3 separate regions of the Homo sapiens genome follow, and all the other regions are linked to region 1. The links are contacts of gene promoters, found by promoter capture Hi-C in blood cells and fetal thymus (Javierre and others, 2016). All regions are on one chromosome and are shown on one strand. Each heading gives the region's core, a stretch centred on a gene start or on the middle of the fragment in contact. The rest is flanking DNA. Distances are from core to core; before and after follow the strand shown.

The links. The method cuts DNA at HindIII sites, captures the fragments that hold promoters and counts their contacts. A CHiCAGO score of 5 or more calls a contact.
Region 2: a contact is called between a fragment that was not itself captured here and the fragment with the promoter of CCNB1 in region 1, in 1 of 17 cell types (neutrophils). The highest score is 10.2, in neutrophils.
Region 3: a contact is called between a fragment that was not itself captured here and the fragment with the promoter of CCNB1 in region 1, in 1 of 17 cell types (non-activated CD4 T cells). The highest score is 6.1, in non-activated CD4 T cells.

Annotation. Positions count from the first base shown.
Region 1 is chr5:69,165,504-69,168,653 of GRCh38, forward strand. CCNB1 (cyclin B1) reads left to right here and starts at 1,647. Exons shown (of 9, transcript NM_031966.4): 1 at 1,647-1,780; 2 at 2,405-2,575; 3 at 2,670-2,840. The coding sequence starts at 1,760. RefSeq lists enhancers at 1,327-2,292, 1,673-1,902. The HindIII fragment of the contact is 10,262 bases long and covers 1-3,150 here.
Region 2 is chr5:73,567,371-73,570,520 of GRCh38, forward strand. UTP15 (UTP15 small subunit processome component) reads left to right here. Exons shown (of 13, transcript NM_032175.4): 2 at 1-64; 3 at 865-957; 4 at 1,050-1,234; 5 at 2,127-2,305. Among named protein-coding and RNA genes, the nearest start is that of UTP15, 3.2 kb to the left of the region's middle. The HindIII fragment of the contact is 3,269 bases long and covers 1-3,123 here.
Region 3 is chr5:65,673,048-65,676,197 of GRCh38, forward strand. All of the region lies in intron 8 of SGTB (small glutamine rich tetratricopeptide repeat co-chaperone beta), which reads right to left. Among named protein-coding and RNA genes, the nearest start is that of SGTB, 47 kb to the right of the region's middle. The HindIII fragment of the contact is 2,505 bases long and covers 191-2,695 here.

The sequences.
Region 1 (3,150 bases), core at 397-2,896:
CCTGTAATCGCAGCACTTTGGGAGGCCGAGGCGGGCGGATCACCAAGTCAGGAGATCGAGACCATCCTGGCTAACATGGTGAAACCCCGTCTCTACCAAAAATACAAAAAATTAGCCGGCCGTTGTGGCGGGCGCCTGCCGTCCCAGCTACTCGGGAGGCTGAGGCAGGAGAATGGAGTGAACCCTGGAGGTGGAGGTTGCAGTGAGTCGAGATCGCACCACTGCACTCCAGCCTGGGCGACAGATCGAGACTCCGTCTCAAAAAAAAGTAAAAAAAAAAATTTTTAAACTGGAACACAGAGGATAAGTAATCCTGCTTCGCCCCTTGCCTCTCGCCCCTGCATGGGGCGAGGAAGGATTGATCAAACCCAGAAAGACTGAGTGAGAATGGATGTTGAACACAGAACTGAAGGATGAATGGGAGTTACCTGAATAGAACCCAGGGGCTTGAATGCAAGAAGAGGCGGGCATTCCAGGCAGAGGAGAGCAAGGGTAAGGGCCCCACGGGAGGCATTCGAGTAGGAGGGTGAACTATGATGACAGAAGACTCAATAACGATCCAAAGAAACCAAATGATTGGGCGCCTTCTTTCGGATCCGTGACTTCCAGCGCCAGGAGTCTCTATTGGCTCTTATACCGTTGCTCTATGGGATAGCAATGTTTTTGTCCTTCAGCCTCCCCTCCAATTGCTGAGCTGCTGGTGTGTTTTGAGGAGTAGAAGGCAAAAAGAACCCTCTTGTTTTTCTTTGGATCTAGAGAGAATCTGAGCAAATGACAAAGCAAATGGGGTAAAATGTCTTTTTGTTTAGTTTTTCCTGATTTTCCCATGAGAGGCAAATACATGTTAAGGATAGTTGAATCTGAGTAAAGGGCATAGAAATATTCCTTACAAGATTTTTGTTGGCAACTGGTCTAAGTATGAAATTATTTCCAAATAGAAAGCTAAAACAAACAAAACAATTGGCCTTGGGAAACTGGACAATCTTGAAGTAATCAAGTAATATTGTTAAGGGACAATCAGTGTTGTGAAAACAACACGGATACACCCCCTCCCTCCCCCTCAAAAAAAAAAACCCTAAATTCAGTTCCCCCGTTGCTAATGTGTGACCCTGGCAAAGTCATCTAAGTCGCTGAGCTTCAGTTCCTCCAACCCAGAGAGTTGTTGCAACGATCAAATGAAAGAATGTCTATTAAAGCCTTTCATGAACTATATTATTGCTGCTACCGTAGAAATGGAAAGTGTGCAACACTAGATCCAAAACTACTTTTGACACTTCTGAGACTGTGGCCGCGCCTCTGTCACCTTCCAAAGGCCACTAGGCCTTTCCTGAGCTGGCATTGGCAACGCACACTCTTGCCCGGCTAACCTTTCCAGGTGGGCGGCGCACTGGCTTCACTGCTCTCCAGGTGGCCGCTGCAGCTGCCCGAGAGCGCAGGCGCAGAGGCAGACCACGTGAGAGCCTGGCCAGGCCTTCCGGCCTAGCCTCACTGTGGCCCCGCCCCTCTCGAACGCCTTCGCGCGATCGCCCTGGAAACGCATTCTCTGCGACCGGCAGCCGCCAATGGGAAGGGAGTGAGTGCCACGAACAGGCCAATAAGGAGGGAGCAGTGCGGGGTTTAAATCTGAGGCTAGGCTGGCTCTTCTCGGCGTGCTGCGGCGGAACGGCTGTTGGTTTCTGCTGGGTGTAGGTCCTTGGCTGGTCGGGCCTCCGGTGTTCTGCTTCTCCCCGCTGAGCTGCTGCCTGGTGAAGAGGAAGCCATGGCGCTCCGAGTCACCAGGGTGAGCCGCTTCGGACTGCGAACTAACGCGGCCTTCTTAGCTGCTGCCTGCTCTCCCTGCCTCGCCTGCGGGAGCCTCCCGAGCGGGAGAGGGCCGCAGGAGCGATTTGGGGAGGAAGGTGGGAGGGGACTCACCAAGAGAGCGCCGAGGTGGGCCCAGGCCTGGTGAGAGAGTGTGGGGGACGATGGATGGAGGGAGGAAGGTGAGAAAGAGAACTGGACGGATATTGGATAAATGTTTTGGGGAGGTGGAGAGTCGACTGGGAACCTTTTGAAAAAGTGATAGAGGGTCCCTGAGTGGGCCCGCCAGCAACTCTGTAACCCCCTTCCCAGAGAGAAGGTGTCTGCAATTGGAGGCTTTTTCGGTTTCCTTTCAAATGTAAATTCTCGGTATTTTAGGGCTGGCCAGGACTAATCAGGGAATCCCTCAATTGGTAAATGTAGAGGTCGGCGGAAACTGACTTGTCACGGCCGCAGAGTAGACTCTGGGACCCATGTTTTCCCTCGGAACCCATTTTTAGTCGGCTTTCTTTCTGGGAACTTCTCCTTGTGCCCCACCTTAATTAACCCTTGACTTACTCGAGCCTTCGTGGATCAGCTCTTAAAGTGGTCTTGCTTCTTTCAGAACTCGAAAATTAATGCTGAAAATAAGGCGAAGATCAACATGGCAGGCGCAAAGCGCGTTCCTACGGCCCCTGCTGCAACCTCCAAGCCCGGACTGAGGCCAAGAACAGCTCTTGGGGACATTGGTAACAAAGTCAGTGAACAACTGCAGGCCAAAATGCCTATGAAGAAGGTAACTCTCTTCCTGACCTAACTTCTGTAAGAGCCCGCCTTCCAACTGTGGCCTTTGATGCAGAAACATTTCATTCTCTCTGTTTCATCTACAGGAAGCAAAACCTTCAGCTACTGGAAAAGTCATTGATAAAAAACTACCAAAACCTCTTGAAAAGGTACCTATGCTGGTGCCAGTGCCAGTGTCTGAGCCAGTGCCAGAGCCAGAACCTGAGCCAGAACCTGAGCCTGTTAAAGAAGAAAAACTTTCGCCTGAGCCTATTTTGGTAAACTTATTCTTACCATTGTAGAGTCTGTTGATTATTTCTTGTCCCTTATTTCACTGATACATGCAAGAGCATTCAAATGAATAGTAATATTAATACCATTTATTGAGTGCTTAGCATGAGGCAAGCTCTGCCTAACATTTTACATGCATTAACTCACATAATCTTTACACGTACTCTCTGAGGTATTGTCACCTCTACTATTTAAATCATGGCTTTAGAGAGGTTATGTCAGGGTCACACAGGTAAGTGGCCCATATGGGATTCAAGCTCAGGCTGTCTGGCTTCAGAATCTATGCTTTTAATTGTC
Region 2 (3,150 bases), core at 239-2,738, 4.4 Mb after region 1:
TCAGACATATCCTATACTTGGTGAAAAAATCACCCAAGATACACTGTACTGGAACAACTATAAGGTGAGTGTGGGACGTAATGAGGGAGAAGGGATTTGTGTTTATGCCAATTTCTCTAGCATATGTTATACTCTGGATGCTCTAACAGAGAATTATTAACTGAAAACCATCTATCAGCAGCTTATAGTTTGGGCAGATAATTTGATATCTATTTTTTCTTGGAATTTTATGTAAAAGTCCATACTGCTTAATCAGATTAACCATACAAATGCCTAGCACAGAACAGATGATCAATCAATGCCAAATGAATTAAATTTTAAAATTTGAATCTCATATGTGTAAAGATGTTTATTGAAGTATTGCTTGTAATAGTAGAAATCTTGAAAAACCCATGTCTATTAGTAGTGGACTGGTATAGTAAATTACAGTGTGCCCTTATAATGGATGGTAAGTCTATTGCTCCTATGAAAGCTAATATGTGTTACTAAGTGAAAAGAAGCAAGATGTGGAACAGCCTACATGGTATGATTATCTTTTTGTTATTTTAAAAGTACAAGTACGTGGTTATTGTATGCTGGTGTAGACATGATAACTTTTTTTTTCTGGTAGAAATCACAGTAAACTCAATAGCTGAAGAGACAGAGTGGGGTGTGGCTTTCTAACCATATGTTTATTTCAGTGGCAACAAGAATAGTCTGGGTGATGAGATATGTACCTTTTTTGCTTTCTTTGTAATTTTATGTTAAATACAACTTAAGAAATGTTACTAAGAACAAAGAGAAACGGTCTGTAAGAAATTATGTAATGCATAAATAGGTCTTACCAGTGGTAACTCTGTTAACACACTATTATTTTTTATTAAGACCCCTGTTCAGATTAAGGAATTTGGTGCAGTTTCAAAAGTAGACTTTTCTCCTCAGCCTCCATATAATTATGCTGTCACAGCTTCCTCAAGAGTAAGTATAATATTAAATTTCTTTATTTTTCTTTTGTATAGTTTACTACTGATCTTGAGCCATCTGGTGAAATACTGTTTTTCATCTTGTAGATTCACATTTATGGCCGATACTCCCAAGAACCTATAAAAACCTTTTCTCGATTTAAAGACACAGCATACTGTGCTACTTTTCGACAAGATGGTAGATTGCTTGTGGCTGGCAGTGAAGATGGTGGAGTTCAACTTTTTGATATAAGTGGGAGGGCTCCCCTCAGGCAGTTTGAAGGCCATACAAAGTAAGAGACAGTTGGTTTCTGTGTGTTCTGGTTTTATTTTGTTGTAAGCTCTTTTTTTCTCTGGACTTTGGTTAAAAAGATAGAGATCAGTTTTATGGAGATTATTTGCCTATAGGTACTATATTTCCTGATTGTTCTAAGAGTGCTTAACTTGGGTTCCGTGGTCCAGTTTCATGGGGCTTATGAATTCCCTAGAATTGTATGTGATATTTTAGGAAATACACGTTTATCTAGGGAGCTACTCTGTAGCTTTTGGTTAACTTTAGTGGGGTCTGTGGCCCAGCTGAGATTATGAATTACTGACCTGAAGACAACCTTACAGCTGGTAATGACAGCTCTATAGGCCTGTACTGTCTTAGAGGCTCTTATGTTGAAGTCAAGTAGGAAGGTGGATTTTCTTCTTGAATTTATAGTGTTTTGCCCCTTAATAAATTAAGTGGCCATCACAATTTTATATTATAACTTTGTTTTCAGGATTGCCAATGTCCGTGCTGAAATTTGTTAAAATTTAACAGAAATTTATGTAACATGATTCTATTTAGTGGTAAATCTCTTTAGAGTTTTTTAAAGAACTTTTTGAAATTTTAAAAATTAAAGTGCCTTTGCTTCCATATTCAGCAGCTAAGTGGAATTGTTTATATACTAGAAAATATAATTTTAAGGCTATCCTTTAATTTTTTTTAACTTTACAATATAGGAGTATTTACACTTCTTAATTGGTTTGGGGGCAAACACTTGTAAGTTTTCTCTTTCTTTCATGATTTCCCCCTATGAAGACTCCCTGAAACTCAGCTGCTTTTTTTTTAATCTGAGAAAAAGGAGCATTTTATGTTAGAAGGTATCAGAAAAATAATTTTCTTGCTTTTTAATATACTGACCTTCAATCTTTCAGAGCAGTTCATACAGTAGATTTTACAGCTGACAAATATCACGTGGTCTCTGGGGCTGATGATTATACAGTTAAATTATGGGATATTCCAAACTCCAAAGAAATTTTGACATTTAAAGAACACTCTGATTATGTGAGGTGTGGATGTGCTAGCAAACTTAATCCGGATCTCTTTATAACAGGTTGGTGAACTCTATTCCCTCCTGAAGCAAATAATCTCACGGGGATGTACTTTAATGTTGCTATGGGACTCTTTTGGGATGGAGGGGTTTAAATTTTTTTTATAAAGGAATATGTTTCTGATTAATTCTTCAGTTTTTAAATTAATTTTTATGTATGTATGTTTGCATTTATTTTCAGACAGGGTCTCACTCTGTTGCCCAGGCTGGAGTGCAGTGATGTGACCATAGCTCACTGCATCTGCTACCTCCTGGGCTCAAGTGATCCTCCCACATAAGCCTCCCAAGTAGCTGGGACTACAGGTGCCCACCACCACGTCCAGCTACTTTGTGTATTTTTTTGTAGAGACGGTTTTGCCATGTTGCCCAGGCTGGTCTCGAACTCCTGGGCTCAAGTGATCCACCTACCTCAATTTCCTCCCGGAGGACTGGGATTACAAGTGTGAGCCACCATGCCTGGCTTCCAATTGTTTTTTATTTTCTTATTCTTCTTTTGTTGATTGTTCATGTCTTCCAAATGTGTTTGGAAAAATCAGGCTGTCTTGAAAACATAATAGACTCTCAGAACTGTAATGTATAGTACCCTGCCTCAAGCAGCCAAGAAACAAAGAGTGCAGTTTAGCCTTTGTGGGTGCCTTTACAAAGATTTCCAGATGATTCAGTAGTGACAGTAGTCCAAAGAAAGAAATATTTTAAGATCAGAGCAAGTTAGATTCTGTATAGTATTATGTAGTGCTTCTTCAGACACGATCAGTAGTAGATGGTTTGGAGGTCCTGTGTCTTCATGAATATACATATATGTCTTTTTAAAACTCCATCTAAGCTTTTTTTCCTTTTAAAATTTATAT
Region 3 (3,150 bases), core at 193-2,692, 3.5 Mb before region 1:
AATCCCTTTAAACTAGTTCTGCAGCAGTAGTTCTTCCCCTTCTCCCACAATCTAGGACCTAGAGGAAATTTAGAACAGATCTATGCTTTTCCAGTCACTTTTCAGTAAGCAATCCTCCTGTCACTTTAAGTTCTATAAAATGACCTCCAGTTCAGCAATTAATGTCTCAGTGTAACAATCAAATACATAAAGCTTCATTTACAGGTAAAACTTCTCCCTTCCTAGCATGGGCCTGCTACAGACTGACCGGTTGTAGTAGAAAAGAGGCACCATTGACTGCTTTGTTTCCTATAGTAGCGGTCCCCAACCCCTGGGCCACAGACTGTTAGGAACCAGGCTGCACAGCAGCAGGTAAGCGGTGGGCGAGCAAGCATTACTGCCTGAGCTCCACCTCCTGTCAGATCAGCTGCAGCATTAGATTCTCATAGGAGCAAGAACCCTATTGTGAACTGCGCATGTGAAGGACCTAGGTTGAGTGCTCCTCAAGAGAATCTAACGCTCCTCTCCCCATCCTGCCCCTACCCCCTACACCCGGTATGGTCCATGGAAAAACTGTCTTCCATGAAACCAGTCCCTGTTACAAAAAGGTTGGGGACCGCTGTCCTATAGGGCTATTTTTTTTTTTTGAGATGAAGTTTCACTCTGTCACCCAGGCTGGAGTGCAATGGCATGACCTCAGCTCACTGCAACCTCTGCCTCCCGGAGTCAAGTGATTCTCCTGCCTCAGCCACCCAAGTAGCTGGGATTACAGGCATGCACCACCATGCCCAGCTAATTTTTGTATTTTTAGTAGAGACGGGGTTTCGCCAGGTTGGCCAGGCTGGTCTGGAACTCCTGACCTCAAGTGCTCCGCCCATCTTAGCCTCCCAAAGTGCTGGGATTACAGGTGTGAGCCAGCACACCAAGGCCTATAGTGCTTCTTTATCCTGTAGTACTTCCAGTCCTCTTCCCTCAGCTTGCTGATTAAGAGTTGTGGCCCTCCAGGTTGAGGGTTAAATGGAGGGAAAGGTGAAAGGAGCAGCAAAGTTCTTATTTGATGACTGGTATTATCTTACTAGTTTTGCATTGGTGCTTTTTGAGTTTGCAAGGTATTCAAAAACTACTGTGGTTCTCTTATGGGGTACTTTCTCATGTTCTTCAGACACTTCTCCTTTCCCTAGGCCCTGGAGATTTCTTACCTATTCTTTGAAAAGGGTAATTTACCCTCTGGATGGATGCTATGACTTTCCCTTCAGTCTTAGGTTCTTGGCAGTCCTCCAGAGATTCTCTGTGTTGGGATCCTGTCACACTTCCAGGAAAGCCTCTTGAACATATTCAGACACACTCTCTCACAATTGTGTGTGCTCACCTTGGTCCACAGGAAACACCTCTGCTCCACTCTCATCAGTACAGTAACTGCCCAAACCACACAGCTAATTCTGCCACTGGCTATCCAGTTGAACTATCAGGTAGAAAGTCTCTGTACCAGAAAAGCCCTTTCTCAGTGAGGGCTTGAGATGAGAGCAAGCCTCCCTAATTCCTTCATATAGGGAGCCCTAAAACTCTAATAGCTCTCTCCAAAAATCATGTTTTAATTTCCATCAACCTGGCCTTTTTTATGAGTCACAAAACATGTTTTTTATCCCCATCTTTTGCAACTCCTACATGGTGGTCTCACACCTTATTTTGGTACATAGCAGCTTGGAGCCTAAGCCAAATCTGAAACTAAAAGAATTCCATTTTTCACATCTTGTTACAATGCCATAACCTGAGTCCTAGAATGGGTAACCATTCTTAAAAAAAAAAATGAAGTCACAAGATCTACAAAACATGTATTTGCTAGCATGGTAAGAAGGCTGAAATTTGATAAGGGAAAAATAAAAACTACCAGTTGCTAAAAAGACTTATCTCACTGGGAATGAGTCATCTGTGCATTTCAGTTCAACAGAAGATTTAATGGATGCAAGACACATTTTTTGAAGGAAACAAAAGATGAATAAAAACTGATTCCTGCCTTCCAAGGGCATATCATGGATAGAATAATTCTCATCCAAAGTATACAGTCACCCCAGGAGCTTGATATGCCCTGGTAACATCCTAAACCCACTAAATCAAAGTTACCACATATTGGACCAGAGCGTGTATGTTCTCAAAAAGGCCCATACATTATTTTGTTGTTTTGTAAGAATAGAAGACAAACACATGAGATATCTATATCTATATCTATCTATCTATATCAAATAAACTCTAAAGATAGAAAACAAGGCAGACAATGCTGAGGGGCAAGCTAGGGAACCACAATGGCCAAATACTCAAACTGCAGATGTTAGATATCTTCCTAGGACCACTTTTATGTAAGAGAGTAGTTTTTAACCTTTCATATATTGGCAGATTCCTGTGCCAATCTCATGAAAAATATGATGCTCTCCCTGGAAAAATGCACACATACACATGTACACAGATTTTTATATATAATTTTGGAAAAATCCATGAGCTTCCTAAAGTCCATCCATGGCTTTCCCACAGGAGGTACATGGACACGTTAAGAACCCTGCCATTCAGCCAGAGAGAAAGGCCAGGCCACCTACAAAGGGAAGCCCATCAGACTAACAGCAGATCTCTCAGCAGAAACCCTATAAGCCAGAAGAGATTGGGGGCCCATATTCAACATCCTTAAAAGAATTTCCAACCCAGAATTTCATATCTGGTCAAACTAAGCTTCATAAGCAAAGGAGAAATAAGATCCTTTTCAGACAAGCAAATGCCGAGGGAATTCATTACTACCAGACCTGCCTTACAAGAGTTCCTGAAGGAAGCACTAAATATGGAAAGGAAAAATTGTTACCAGCCACTACAAAAACACACTGAAGTATACAGACCAGTGACACTGTGAAGCAACCACATAAGTTTGCAAAATAACCAGCTAGCATCATGATGACAGGATCAAATTTACACATAACAATACTAACCTTAAATGTAAATGGGCTAAATGCCCCAATTAAAAGACACAGAATGGCAAACCAGATAAAAAAACAAGACCCATCAGTGAGCTGTATTCAAGAGACCCACTATACATACAAAGACACACATAGGCTCAAAATACAGGGATGAAGGAAAATTTACCAAGCAAATGGAAAACAGAAAAAAGCAGTGGTCGCAATCCTAGTTTCT